Linked DNA regions of Homo sapiens: region 1 is linked to region 2. Evidence: promoter capture Hi-C in 16 types of primary human blood cells and fetal thymus (Javierre and others, 2016). All regions are on one chromosome and are shown on one strand. Each heading gives the region's core, a stretch centred on a gene start or on the middle of the fragment in contact. The rest is flanking DNA. Distances are from core to core; before and after follow the strand shown.

Evidence for each region. Contacts are between HindIII fragments. The CHiCAGO score rates a contact against its expected background, and 5 or more counts as called.
Region 1: a fragment that was not itself captured here is called in contact with the fragment with the promoter of COG5 in region 2 in 1 of 17 cell types (fetal thymus); the score reaches 6.6 in fetal thymus.

The regions. Positions count from the first base shown.
Region 1 is chr7:108,559,163-108,566,840 of GRCh38, forward strand. THAP5 (THAP domain containing 5) reads right to left here. Exons shown (of 3, transcript NM_001130475.3): 2 at 6,668-6,860; 3 at 2,970-5,943. The coding sequence ends at 5,029. Among named protein-coding and RNA genes, the nearest start is that of THAP5, 6.7 kb to the right of the region's middle. The HindIII fragment of the contact is 2,325 bases long and covers 4,991-7,315 here.
Region 2 is chr7:107,558,326-107,565,319 of GRCh38, forward strand. It overlaps COG5 (component of oligomeric golgi complex 5), which reads right to left and starts at 5,595. Exons shown (of 22, transcript NM_006348.5): 1 at 5,478-5,595. The coding sequence starts at 5,571. DUS4L-BCAP29 (DUS4L-BCAP29 readthrough) reads left to right here and starts at 5,646. Exons shown (of 13, transcript NR_163941.2): 1 at 5,646-5,884; 2 at 6,263-6,351. DUS4L (dihydrouridine synthase 4 like) reads left to right here and starts at 5,646. Exons shown (of 8, transcript NM_181581.3): 1 at 5,646-5,884; 2 at 6,263-6,351. RefSeq lists silencers at 5,474-5,684, 5,723-5,822 and enhancers at 5,523-5,642, 6,173-6,994. The HindIII fragment of the contact is 2,647 bases long and covers 3,828-6,474 here.

The sequences.
Region 1 (7,678 bases), core at 4,903-7,402, 1.0 Mb after region 2:
ATAGATACATGAGATTGAGTCAATATCACAGCCAAAAGCTCTGGGATGCAGGGCAGCCTGGAGGCCCTTGACATAGGGTATGGGAGCTAGACGGAGTCAAAGACAGAATGAAAGTCTGAATAGGAATGTTTGCTTTAGAAAATGACTTCTTTCTAGCATGAAAATACGAGAGTGTTTTCTCTTATTAGACGAAGGTGTAGTCTCTATGGAGAGAGGAAATAAGTGAATACATTCACTAGTGATGCAGGAGAACAAAGGGTCACTGAATTTAATTAGACATTGCATACTATTCGTATACATGCCACAAATACCATTAAGAACCTGAACCTTGGAACCAAACAACTGATGTGCTAACAGATTAATGATGTATTGTTCCTTCTCCTTAAGTTTTCTACAAAAGAGATTGTGAATGAAGTGAGATTACTATTTGTATTAGTTCATTCTTACACTGCTATAAACAAATACCTGAGACTGAGTAATTTATAAAGGAAAAGAGGTATAATTGGCTCACAGTTCTGCATGGCTAGGGAGGCCTCAGGAAACTTACAATCATAGCATAAGGGGAAGCTGGCACATTTTACATGGTGGCAGGAGAGAGAGAGAGTGAGCGAGAGTAGGTGGAAGAGCCCCTTATAAAAATCATCAGATCTCATGAGAACTCATGATCATGAGAACAGCATGGGGAAAACTGCCCCCATGATCCAATCAGCTCCCACCAGGTCCCTCCCTCAACACCTGGGGATTACAATTTGAGATGAAATTTAGGTGGGGACACAAAGCCAAACCATATCACTATTTTAGAGCTTCTTTTATTAAAACTTTAAATATTTATAGTTTGATCTTAATATCTTCAGGTTATTTCAGAATTGTTTGGGGATGTGAATAGCTCTAAATTTATTATGTTAAAACTATTTATTAGTTCATATTAGCTTTAAACCTACTCTCTTATAAGATTACATGTTGTCTTGTACAGTACTGCCTGGTTCTTACTTTCTCTGATGGCTTAGTAGGCCACTTCTTTAGTTACAAGCTCAAGGCAAGGCATGAAGGACCTTGTTTGCAAAGGAGAGAATGATGTACAAATGATGTCATTCTCATATAGTTCATATTTTACAGCAGCACAGAACTAAAGCAGTTACCTGCTTGCTCACCCACAGCCTCTTTTTCAAAGGGAAACTGCTCCTTTTCAAGGCTTTACTGAGGTAGATGAGTCTGTTCTATACCATGTGACCCTTCCCCATCATATTCACTGGATGCAACTGCAGCCTATAAGACAGGACCCAAAGGATGCCAACTCACAGGTTTACTACAGACCCACTGGCTTAAAAATATATGCAAGGTCCAGTTGGATCCCTCTTTTGGAAATCTGGAATTTAAAAACCGAATGACTGAGCTAATTAACAGAGGAAGCTGAAGATTCATAATGTAGAGAAACTTAGGGGCCTATTTGTAAACTGAGATATAAGGTTTGGCTGGGAGAGAGAGTTTGAAACAGATGCCATTCAGGAGGCAGTTGACATGAGGGAGCCTCTTTTCCAGATGTCTTCCAGAACCAATTACTATGGGGCACAACTGTACTGCAACTTTTTTTCTTTTGTGACAGGGTCTCACTCTGTTGCCCAGGCTGGCGTGCAGTGGCGCAGTCATGGCTCACTGCAGCCTTGACCTAGGCTCAAGAGATCCTCCCACTTCAGCCTCCTGAGTAGCTAGGACTAAAAGCACCGACTACCATGCCGAGCTAATTTTTAAATTTTTTGTAGAGATGGGATCTATGTTGCCCAGGCTGGTCTCAAACTCTTGGCCTCAGGTGATCCTCCTGCTTTGGGCCCCCAGAGCGTTGAGATTACAGGTGTGAGCCACTGTGCCTGCCTGTACCGCAACTTCTGTGTTTGGATTCCCGAGACCCTGGTTTGAGCCTTTCAGTTCTGTTCTTCCCTGTTTCCTTTCTTGAGCTGGATTGAGTTTCTGTTCCTTGCAACCAAAAGAACCCTAACTCAAATCCTCTCTTGCATTAAAATGTTGCTTTGGTCACTGACTGAAACCTTAGGCATGTGCCATGGTAGTGATGAGAATGAAACACATTCTAAATTTGGAAACAACATACCATTTTTTTTTTTTAAAGACACGGTCTCACTTTGATGCCCAGGCTGGAATGCAGTGGCACGATCTCAGCCCATTGTAGGCTCTACCTCCTGAGCTCAAGCAATCCTCCCACCTCAGACTCCTGAGTAGCTGGGAATACAGGCACGCACCACCATGCCTGGCTGATTTTTTTTTTTTTTTTTTTCTAGAGACAGGGTTTCACCATGTTGGCTAGGCTAGTCTTTAACTCCAAAGTTCAAGCAATCTGTCTACCTGGTCCTCCCAAAGTGCTGGGGTAACAGGCATGAGCCACTGCAACTGGCAGGATGAGCTAATGATTGTTTTGATTTTCTAAATGAAGCATGTGATGAGATCCTCATCTTGGGCAAGCGGGAAGGAGAGGCAGGAAAGGAAGGGAGGAGTGAGAGACAGAATTTGAGTGTGGGGTTATGAACTTACTAGAAAAATACAGTAACACTGCTGGGCTCATCTGATTTGTGGTCATGAATTTATAATCAAGTCTGTCCAATCGTGATTTTTTTCTATTCTACCGGCTCTTCTGATGTAGGAAGAGAAAAGGCAAAGAGATATTTGAATTCAACCAGGAATGTAATTTAGGCAAGTGAGAACAATAGGCAACAGAGCAATGTTGTTCAAAGTTTTACCGGAGAATGATTATTATGGTCCAGAAAGTCAGAGTAAGGATGGACGTGAATACAGAAAGGGTACTGTTTTTCAGATTTTGAAATATCTGCAGTACACTTAACAGCTGAGCATCCCCAATTCAAAAATCTGAAGACTGAAATGCCCTAGTGAGCATTTCCTTTGCGTGTCATGTTTGTGCTCAAAAAGTTTCAGATTTTGGAGCATTTTGGATTTTCAGATAGTCAACTTTTACTTATAATTTATTAAAGAAATAAAGCTAGTTTAAATTTTTTCTGAGGAACCTGTAACTTTCAGAAAATTACTACAATGTACACTGTTGAAACTTAACATATCATTACTTTATTGTGACTCAAGATTATTTTCATCTGTATTAAATTAAGTATTTGCAAAATGCAACATAGGAATACTTAATAACACTGTAATAACTCTATCATCTCCCCATAATTTATGCAAAAATTTTAAGTTTTTCCCCCATCGTCACCTAAGACATTTCTAATCTTTTATAATTAGTTGACTCACTTTCATATAGTACCAATTAATATTAGCCTAATGAAACTAAGTCAAATATGGCCAAAAATAATCATCATGCATTTACAAAACAATATTATTTGCCAGTCAGAGTCAACTTTTATTGAGCACCTCCTATATTCCAGAACCAAAAACATGTTTGTTCCTTACAAAATTCTCAAAGCCACTCTTTAAGGTAAGTAATAGTACGTTCTACTTAACAGATGAAAAAACTAAGAATCAGACTGATACAACTTCCTCAACATCATAGGCAGAAACATAATTATACTGACTGCCAATTTTAAGAAAACATCTATTTGTTACATTTGTGTCATTACTACAAAATCTTTGCTTTTACAGTTTTCTTAAAATCATGTGAATATAAACAGTATTTTTATTTACATTACCATTACTTCTCTTTTCTAAGAGAAATTCTTTGTCTCCCTAAGATCATGACCACTTATGTATAATTTCTTGCTTATAAATTTTAATAAAATATACGTAAGTGGGAATGTACAGTATTAAGTATTACTCTATTATTCTGGAATTTAACAATGAATAAGCACATATTTTAAAGGCCACACCTACTAAGAAACAGATACAAACTGTAATTTCTAAAATATATTTAAAATTAACCTCATTAAAATTTTTGGTTTATAAGTTTAACTGTATAAATACAGAAAGTTTAGCTTAGATGACTATGTATTTGATGGTTAGCCACATATAAGTTACCGAAATACATATTCTTTCAAGTTTGAAGTACCTCTCCTAAGAACTGGGCTAATGGGTGGTTCCTTAGTTTAGTTCAACTGGAATAAAATTATAAAAGTTCTATCTTGGCCAGGCGCGGTGGCTCACGCCTGTAATCCCAGCACTTTGGGAGGCCAAGGTAGGTGGATCACCTGGGGTCAGGAGTTCGAGGCCAGCCCGGCCAACATGGTGAAACCCCGTTTCTACTAAAAATACAAAAATAAGCTGGATGTGGTGGTGTGTGCCTATAATCCCAGCTACTCGGGAAGCTGAGGCAGAAGAATCACTTGAACCCGGGAGGCAGAGGCTGCAGTGAGCCAAGATCAGGCCACTGCACTCCAGCCTGGGTTACAGAGTGAGACTCCATCTCAAAAAAAAAAAAAAAAAAAAAAAAAAAAAAGTTTATCTTCCTTTCTATTACAGATAATATAACTGTAATATGTAACTATAGCCAAAAGGTCAAAGACCACAGAATTCAATAAATACTGAAAATAATACATGGTTAATATCATCAAATTCTAGCCAACTTCTAGTATTACGTATATATTATCTTACAGAAAATGTGTTCTAATAGAATTATCTTAATAAAAAGGGAAGGGACTATAAATAACCAATTACAAATCCAGTAAGTGCTTATTTTACAAATTAGGGACTGAGGCACAATCATAAGTAACTTGCCCAAGTCATATGCCAGTGGTAGAACCAGGACTGATTCCTGAACCTGACTTCTAGTCTGTGCTCTTTGAACACTTCTTTGTTTTCTCATGTTATAACTGAATCCTTCTATGTGCTAAATTTTAATTTGGAAAATTATCAAGTAATAAAACTGCTTTTCTCTCCAGCCCAACTCTCTGGTTTTTCTTAAATAAGTATTACAAGAATAGGATACAGTTCATAACTTTACAACACTCTCATAGGTTCATTAAGATGAGAACTTTATACAGGAAACAGTTCACTTTACATGTAGTTTGGTTTGGCTGGAAAAAGCTTATTTAACAGCCATAGTTTTAAAACCTAGTTATTCTATATCATAGTGACTTCATATGTTGTAAAATGGTTTTCTATAATCTTGACGTTTTCTTCAGATAGCCAGTTTTCCTGCTTTAGCTGCCTTATAAGAGCTTCCAAAGACTTCAATCTACCTAGAGTTTGTTGCTCTTTTAACTCTAGAAGAGTTATCTTTGAATGTAGCTTAGAGACTTTCTGCCAAAGATGTTCCTTATTTATATCTTGTCTGCAGTAAGAATGTTCGATTTGTAAAACTTCTGTCCCATAGTCTACATCCTTATACAAGGAGTCTTCAATGTCTGTGTCTTCCATTTCCGTGGTTTCTTTTTGTGCAGATATAAAAGAATTAACTGAGGGTTTAGAATTTTCAGCAGGTACAAAAATGGCAATAACAGATTCTTTATTTGTGTTTAATTCTTCAACTGTTTGATTAATTGTGCTGAATAAGAATGGATTTTCCTGTGCTGACTTTATTTCCATGGAATTACTTGTAAAGTTTGGATTAGCAAGATGACTGGTAGTTACTTCAAGAACTTCTTGAGTTTCCAAAGATTGATGAATACTTTCTGAATTTGAAGTTGTCAAAGTAATAGTTGTAGAATTTAGATTCTCAAAACATGTGTGAAAACCACCTCTACCTGTATCTTGGTTAACTGATGTTTCCAAGGTAGATTCTGGTTTCCCAGTATGTTGTTTAACTAGATTAAGAGTTAACATGTTATTTTGTATACTTCCTGTTTTGGGAGCTGGTGGCTTTACCAAGGAAGATGAATGAAGTAATTCTGGATGTTGATGGGGCACATCTGTGTTAACTATATTTTTCTTTGTCTCATTTAATACAAATGATTCTTCTGACTTGGCTTTTGGGCATACTTCTTTCTCATCTTCCAAGTTTTTCTTCTGGGATTTTTTTTTAGAAGGGTCTTTTCCCTAGAAAATAATATTTTCATGTTCTGAAAAAGATGACTTTTATTGGCTTATTATGCTAGTGCTATTTAATTATAATATTGAGTAGTACACTGGCCAAGCAAATTTATTTAGTTAAAAAAAAGCTCAGAGTATATATACCTTAAAGTATTTTCTAAAAAGCATTAATCCCATTCAATATACGGCAGAAACATTTCAGATCATTCAAAAGACTAGTATATTGGGAGGCCAAGGCAGGCAGATCAACTGAGGTCAGGAGTTCAAGACCAGCCTGGCTAACATGGTGAAACCCCCATCCCTACTAAAAATACAAAAATTAGCCGGGCGTGGTGGCAGGCGCCTGTAATCCCAGCTACTCAGGAGGCTGAGGCAAGAGAATGGCTTGAACCCAGGAGGCAGAGGTTGCAGTGAGCTGAGATCGCACCACTGCACTCTAGCCAGGGTGACAGAATGAGACCTTGTCTCAAACAAAAAAAGTATAAAAAATAAAACTCATGAACTTGTGTTAATAACTTAATAATGTATATCTCTTGCTTCTCTTAAGCTGTGCTTCATGAGTTTAATTTTTTTTAATTATCACTTTTAGTAAAAGCACAAATTAGTGCTCCCTTTTTTCCAAGTATCTGTTTACCCAAGTTATAGTTCCCTCTTACTCTCCCACCTGATCACCTGCCACCCTGAAATCTGCCACTCTGCTCAGCATTACCCCTCTCCCATACTGCAATACCTGATTGTCTTCAGGCAAAGAAAATATTGTTGGAACTGCAGTTTGTTTTAAATATCGAATACCCCATCTGATGTCAAGAGAGTCAGGAGTAAAATGGTCACTACATAGAAACTGGTATTTACTGGGAACCCATGAATCTCGCTTCATATTCTTTAACCACTTTTCCAGTCTTTCTTTGTCATGTAGAGGAAATCTGGAATTTAAAAAAAAAAGAAGAAAAAAGGAAAAACTTTGCTATATTTTTACAATTTTGCCAAATTCCCACCCTATATATCTGGGTAACCTATGCATCAAGTAAGTACTACAAGAGGAAGGCAACCATCCCTACCAAATAAGAGCATCTTCATGACAACTAGTACCATTATCATCTCTGCAGTAAGAGGCCTAAGATGTAAGACATGTAGCCAAGGCTCTTATCTGATAAGAGCTGAACATAATTCAGAGTCCCTTCAAGTAAAATATATGTGTTCCTATAAAGGACAAAATCTATTTGTATTTTCTATGGATTATGTTCCATTTTTATATTGCTGTACAGTTTGCCTAGAACTAGAAAAAAGGTTTGTATAAATTATAAATTCCTATTCAAATGTATTTCATAATACCACCACATGTCAAATGGCTTGTTGTCTATAATTCAAGGCAGTATTAAGCTTTACAATCTTATTTAATATTTAAAAAATAAGATGTTATTTCAAACAAATGATTTAGCTGAAAAAGTACTGAAAATATTCTCTTTACTAGCATCATCTTTAATTCTATCTATAAGTAATCTAGTCTAATAGTACTACACTTCTATAACCAATGAACTGGGAACTCCAAATTTCAAGTTCTGAAGGAGAAACTGATAGAAGAAAAGAATGGAACATGTTAAAAGGGACAGTCTCAGATATTTTATATGAAACAAATCAAATACAAATGGCAAGACAGCGCTGTATACATTTTGTTCCTGTACCTGACAATAACCTGGATTTAAAGTTGGTGCTAACATTACAGTGTATGGCAGAATTTGAT
Region 2 (6,994 bases), core at 4,345-6,844:
ACTGGCTCATGCCTGTAATCCCAGCACTTTGGGAGGCCGAGGTGGGTGGATCACCTGAGGTCAGGTGTTCAAGACCAGCCTGGCCAACATGGTGAAACCTCAAACCCCATCTCTACAAAAATACAAAAATTAGCTGGGCATCATGGCGGGTGCCTGTAATCCCAGCTACTCGGGAGGCTGAAGTGGAAGAATAGCTTGAACCCGGGAGGCACAGGCTGCAGTGAGCCGAGATCGTGCCATTGCAATCCAGCCTGGGTGACAGAGCAAGACTTTATCTCTGGCCGGGCGCGGTGGCTCACACCTGTAATCCCAGCACTTTGGGAGGCCGAGGCAGGTGGATCACGAGGTCAGGAGATCAAGACCATCCTGGCTAGCACAGTGAAACCCCGTCTCTACTAAAAATATAAAAAAAATTAGCCGGGCGTGGTGGTGGGCGCCTGTAGTCCCAGCTACTCGAGAGGCTGAGGCAGGAGAATGGCGTGAACCCGGGAGGCGGAGCTTGCAGTGAGCTGAGATTGCGCCATTGCACTCCAGCCTGGGCGACAGAGCAAGACTCTGTCCCAAAAAAAAAAAAAAAAGACTTCATCTCAAAAAAAAAAAAAAAAAAAAACCATAACTACTAGCTATAACTATTAATCCAAGAAAACAAGATCATTGTCAGTGAAAAGACAACAGGAAAATTGACTCTATATATATATATACACATATGTAATATTTATGGCCTCAGATATCTCTAGATCAATACACAAATACTGTTATAGCAAAGTGAATCTGGAATTTTAGTAACAATAGGAAATATAAATTTATAGGTGTTACTGAAATTTAGGATTTATGGGTGAAATATGTTAATGGAAAGAAAAGCTGTTTAAAATAGGCCCCTAATAGACAGAAAACAGAAGTAATACCAGATGTTAAAAAGATACCCCTCAATATAGAAATCCACAAATATGTGGATGAAAGAAAAATTAAGAGAATTGAAAGCTAAAAATAGATACCCAGAAGGGAGCTCATGGTAACCATGTACCAAATCTCCTAATGATACAGTAGATACAAGTAAAGCTGCCTTGAGAGAGATTATGAAACAAACAAAATAGAGTACTTTTAAGAAAACCTAAATTGTCTACATCTGCTATAATGTATGCTCCAAGAGGGGAAGAAGGTCTTTGTTTTGTTTGCTAACTCTTCTCCAGTGTCTGAACAATACCAGACACATGGCAGGTTCCATGAATTAACTAATCTATACATCAGCTGATGTATCATTAGTATCATTCTGGTAACAACCAACAACAAAAAGTAAAGGCTCATACTCTTGATTATTCTTAAAATGTAGTGGAATGAAAGAAGGAAACTGCTACTTTGGCTGCTTTTAAGTCTGAGAACCACATTTCCTTCTGATTTGCCAAGTGCTTCTCAGAATTAAGAGTCCTGTCAGCCAGACAAATGAAAAAAGCCATTCCAAGCAAAGGGAAGGTTTAGCAGTGGCAAATGCCATGGCATATTTTGAGAAACAAGGGGAATACTGATTTCAGTGTGTCTAAATCATAGCACATGTATATTGGACAGAAATGGTAAAGAATGACAGATGTGGTTCCAAAGGTTGGAGCGCAGTTTGAAAAGAGGTTTGTAAGACATTTGAAATGTTTAACCATATCTCATTTAACCCAAGAAATTGCACTATCAGCTTTATGTTACAGAACAATAATCCTGGCAGCTGTATAGAGGATGATGGAAAAAGGATTAGTCACACAGCAATGTGCTGAAGTTGCCTCTTATTGGCTCTTGAGCACAGACTGTTACATTTTCAGGAATTCTGTGAGCCAGTTGACCTTTCACACAGATATCTTAAAATCTACGATGGTGAGAGTATTTACACCATGGTAATCAGCAAACACTACAAAAATCAGGGCTTTTTCTATTTTCCCACAAAGCCAATTAACCAATACACCCAAGAAATAGAACCACAGAGGCCAGTAAAGTACTATGTTAACAGCCTAAGACATAATGAAGGCCCGACTAAGACCTGAATAAGTGGCACTAAGAATGTCAAAGTGACAAATTTGACAAATATTCACACTGCACAGGATGTAGGACTTAGTGACAAGCTGAAAATGGGTGATTAGGTAGAACAAACAAGGATTCCCAAATTTCTGGATTAAGCAACTGATACAGGAAATTTAGTTTTACACTAACTTAGACCACTAGACACTGAATATACCAAGATGAACATAAACTTCTGCCTCCAAGGAATTCATAATTTACAAGGGGAACAAGCACACATTTACCTAACAACATAGTAAACACAGATAACAGAAACTACCAGAGGAAAAGATTAGGAGAGAAGAACAGAAAAAGTGAATTCATTTCATTTTTTCATATGTAAACCTTGTACTATTTGTTCATATGTAGGTTTTCATGTGTATTATAGAACTAGCACTGCTTGTTTACTATCAAAATAGAAATGTCCATACAGGTTATGGAATGGCATATCATAAAAAAATTAAGATAGAAATGTCCAGTAGGCAGTTAAAAATATAGTTTTATAATTCAGAAGACAGGTAAGGAGCATACTGAAACCACAGACAAGACCAGATGATTTAGGAAAAAAAAGTTTTAGAATGCACAAAAAGGCAGGAAAATGAGGAAGATAGGAAAGTGGGGGGTGGACAGAGAAAATGAAAGCAATCAAAGAGACTAAAGAGTGCTCAGGGAGAAAGAGAAACAAAAAAGAATGGCAAAAGCCAAAAGAAGGGATAAAGAAAGTAAGTATTAGTATTGTCATAGAGCTTACAAAGATCAAACACAACGGGATGTGGCATTTGAGGGCTGACAGCCTTTAAAGAGATGAATTATATAATGCTTCTCTTTTATAGTTTCCTCATTCCCATAGAGGGCATATCAGAAACACCTCACCAATTTTCATACTATGCATCTGTGCTCACCAAGCCTATCAATCCGATACTCTGTCATTGGCCAAATCCCCGATATAGTGAATCAAAGTTTCTGCTGGAAATGCTTAATTCCTCAGGAATGTTGGGGGTGGAGGGGCAACAGAGACCGCTTAATTCAGAACAAACTGAACTGACAAGTATCTACAGGAACCTGGAAAAGAGCACCTAGAGAATTAAGAATTTTTAAAAAGCACGGCACCCATAAACCGCATGAGGAAAGTATTTCAAGAAAGGAATCAAATGTTATTACAAGTTAAAGGACCAAAAAAGTGTCCATTTGTCGTATGTGCAAGAAAGTCATTGAAAACCTTGCAAAGTTACTTCAATGGCATAGATTGAGGGTGACTGAGTCCCCAGGAAACAGGAAGAAAAAATCCAGAGCAAAGTAGGAGGCACTATCCTTAGAACGGAGCAGAGACTCGGCCGGGCGTGGTGGCTCACGCCTGTAATCCCAGCACTCTGGGAGGCCAAGGCAGGCAGATCACGAGGTCAGGAGATCGAGACCATCCTGGCTAACACGGTGAAACCCCGTCTCTACTAAAAATACAAAAAATTAGCTAGGCATAGTGATGGGCGCTTGTAGTCCCAGCTTCTCAGGAGGCTGAGCCAGGAGAATGGCGTGAACCCCGGAGGCAGAGCTTGCAGTGAGCCGAGACTGCGCCACTGCACTCCAGCCTGGGCAACAGCGCGAGACTCCGTCTCAAAAAAAAAAAAGAAAGAAAGAAAGAAAGGAGCAGAGGCTCCACTTCCGTTGCAATTGAAAAGGCAAGGGAAAAAAGGTGCAACAGATGGTTATACGTTGAGGTTAAATTCATAGGTTTGATGGGCAAGAAATGGAGAAAGTTCACATCTGATGGATCCTCTTTTTCTCCCCAGGGAAGCTTAAAGTCATTTGTTGAGCTTGAAGCGAAAGGTTTGAAAAGGGTAAAGAAGATTTAAACAATCACTGTGGAGAATGGCAGAGAACCAAGGAGGAAAATACAGAAGGCAGAACTGAAGAGTATTTACCGTCCAAGAACTGATTACAATTCCTGAAATACATCCTACTGAAACATATATCCAATGTTCCACTGTTCACCTGGGGAAGTCCTGTCTACAGTTTAAAACGTCTCCACCTAGAAAGCCTTTTCTGACATTTCCTAACCAGTTTCCAACCCCCAGTTATCATTCTCCTCTGTATTAATGCTCTACTTTATATGCAATCCTACTGCTATCTTACATCACTATATTACAGCACCTACCTTTATAGTCTACAAGATTATTTCCTCTACTAGATGGTGAACTACTTGAGGGCAAAAATTGCACGTGTATCAGGAGCAACTGCAAATATATCAGGGTCTCTGCCTTGTATCTAAAGTTTAAATTCAGTTTAGCCAAGTTTTAGACAGAGACCCGGTCCTAGAGTTTCCAACATGAAATAGTTCAGAAAACATCATTGCTTTTGACAAAAGTACATAAATTATCATGAAAAGGCACGTAATTCAGGATGACAATAAAATATTTAACAGTCAGAGAAAATAAACAATAATTTGGAACTTTATTTCATTTATTACCCACTTCGGTCTTCAAATGTGTGCATGTGCTTCTAACTGCGATGATGAATTTAAAAAACATTCTGCACCTACTGTATGCAAGATACTGCTATTCACACTGTGGGATATTAAAAAAAGTTTGCAATACAGAAGAGATTAAAACAAGTATACAAATGATTTTAGTACAAGGTAGAATGCGATGGCCACTAGAGAAAAAATTAAGAACAGGTGAGAAGGGCTTTATTTTTATGCTTATAAATGTGAACTTTATTCTGAAGGATAAGAGATTCGGGACATGGTAACTGGATTGACACAACTGAATATGCTTTTCAAGTATATTATATCTAACTTTTCTTATTTTGGGCAACTTCTCTCCAAACTGACTAGCAATAAAATCTGACTGCTAGATTCTGTACAAATGGTTAATCCCAACCTGAACAAATGTCTCAAACCCTCCCCCACGTGTCACTGTAGATAACTGCCTCATAAAGGAGGAAAAAAAAAACCAGCCTGTAAGAGGGGTCACCTGTACAGTCCATTTGTTAAAGGAGTAAGCGTTTCCAGCTCTACTTTAAAACAAGGCCCTATTTCATTATGCGTCTGCCGTCTGTTCTAGAGCTTACACTTTTGAAGAGCTCGAACGCTACACCCCTTCGTCAAGAACTGCGGCAGCAGCCGGTGGCTGCCAACGCGGTCCACAGGGTTTGGGCTCCCGAAACTTCAGGGAAGCTGGAGGCATGGGGGGGGGGGGGGTCGAGTTGAAATGAGGAACACACAGAAACCAAGTGTCCCCAAGACTCCAGAAAAGAGGGAGCCAGTCCCAGAGTAAATAGGTTGGCTAGAACAGTACCCAAGCCAGGGGGCCGGGCGGAGGGGAGTGGTCACGTCCAGACTGGAAAACTTTCTGCAAAGCAACGGGTTGGGTCCACCTCGCTGTCCAGGTGCGGAGCAGCGCAGACCCCCAACCCCACGACCTGGTCAGACCCCGTCTCCTTACCGTCCTGCAGAAGTTCCCGGACTGTAGCTGCAGCCGCTCCAGAGCCTCGAGCTCCGAGGCCAGCTACAGCGACGCTGCCGCCGCCACCTTCCATGTTGGCAGGTGCCGGGTTGATGTCGTCAGCAGCAGAACGGCTCCGCCCAGGTGGTGACGCAGAATCCCGGCGCCGCCCGCCCACCCAGCCCATGGCTCCAGGCCCACCTGGCGAACTGACTCTCAGCCCGCGCCTGGGCTAAGCCTGGCTAGGAGCCGCGCAGGTACTCGAGCAGTGGGCGCCCAGGGTCCGAGTGCTCTGCGCCCAGCGCACCGAGGGAGCCAAGGCCGTCGGGCCGGCGCTTTCAGCTGTCTCTCGCAGCAGCTCAGGGCCGCGCCCCCTGGGCTGGCGTCGTGCCCTAGCCAAGGAGAAGGTGGGCACCGGAACGTGGCCGCAGCGCTTATCTGTGAAGCAAGTATTAAACCTCAGAACAGGGGCCGCGCGGCGTAAGGCAGGAGAGCAGAGCGGAGGTTTCAGGGAGCTTCGTTTGCCCTCCACACTCACAAGAGTCACGCGTTAGTTGCTACACAGCTTTATCTGTTCCACGCCTTGATTGGCACTCCTGGGGTAATAAAAGCCCGCAGGAAATGCTTGGGAAGAAAAGTTGCTGGGGATGAACAGTGAAGAGAATTAGGGAGAGTCGATGAAGAAGGAAGTCTGAACCATAAAAGGACCAATAAAACTCACTGTCTCTACCCTCCTTCCTTCCCATGAGACCTTTGACCTTTTGCCTTTTCTACTTCTTCCTCAGTTTCAGTCACGTGCCAGACTTTTTCTTAATTACAAACTGATAGATGGTCCACATCTCAACTAACAGTATTGACGCTGTAAGAGCATCAGGTTGGTTCCCATTGTATCTTCTTTACTAATACGTTCGCGTTTTTGACCTAGATTTCTTTCTTCTAAGATAAATACTGATAAATTAACAGGGTCAGGCAACCACAAGTATGCAAGACAGTCTTAAGCTTCTTCGCAAAAAGAAGCTGGAAGATGACTTTTTCATTTTGTACAGTAGGTATGTATCCAGGAAACCAATTTTATCCAGTTCCAGAGCTACGTGGTTTTCTACATTCTGTTTCAAAAAGGTGCTATTACTTATCCTGTGCTTATCGCTGTTCTAAGTATTTTATAACTCAATGCATTTCATACTCATAACACCTCAGGTAAGCAAGTCTTATGCTACACTGCATTATGCTCTCTTTGTCTCAGAGGATTTTCCCTAGTATGTAAGATCTTAGTCATGATGGGAATAGGGGTGATTCATTCATTACTTGTGAATTAGGAATTGTTTTTCCTTCCTTGGCTTTATTCCCCCCAGTGGAAGATTTTAGAAGAGTGAGTAATATTCATTCATACAGCGAAAGTTTTGACCCCTCTACTCTGCATGCTCTCATGAGTTTACAAACATAAGACTCAATCCATATTCTAAAAGGAGTTAATAGGTAAGGTAGGAACCCATTTAAACAAACAATTGTACCAGGTG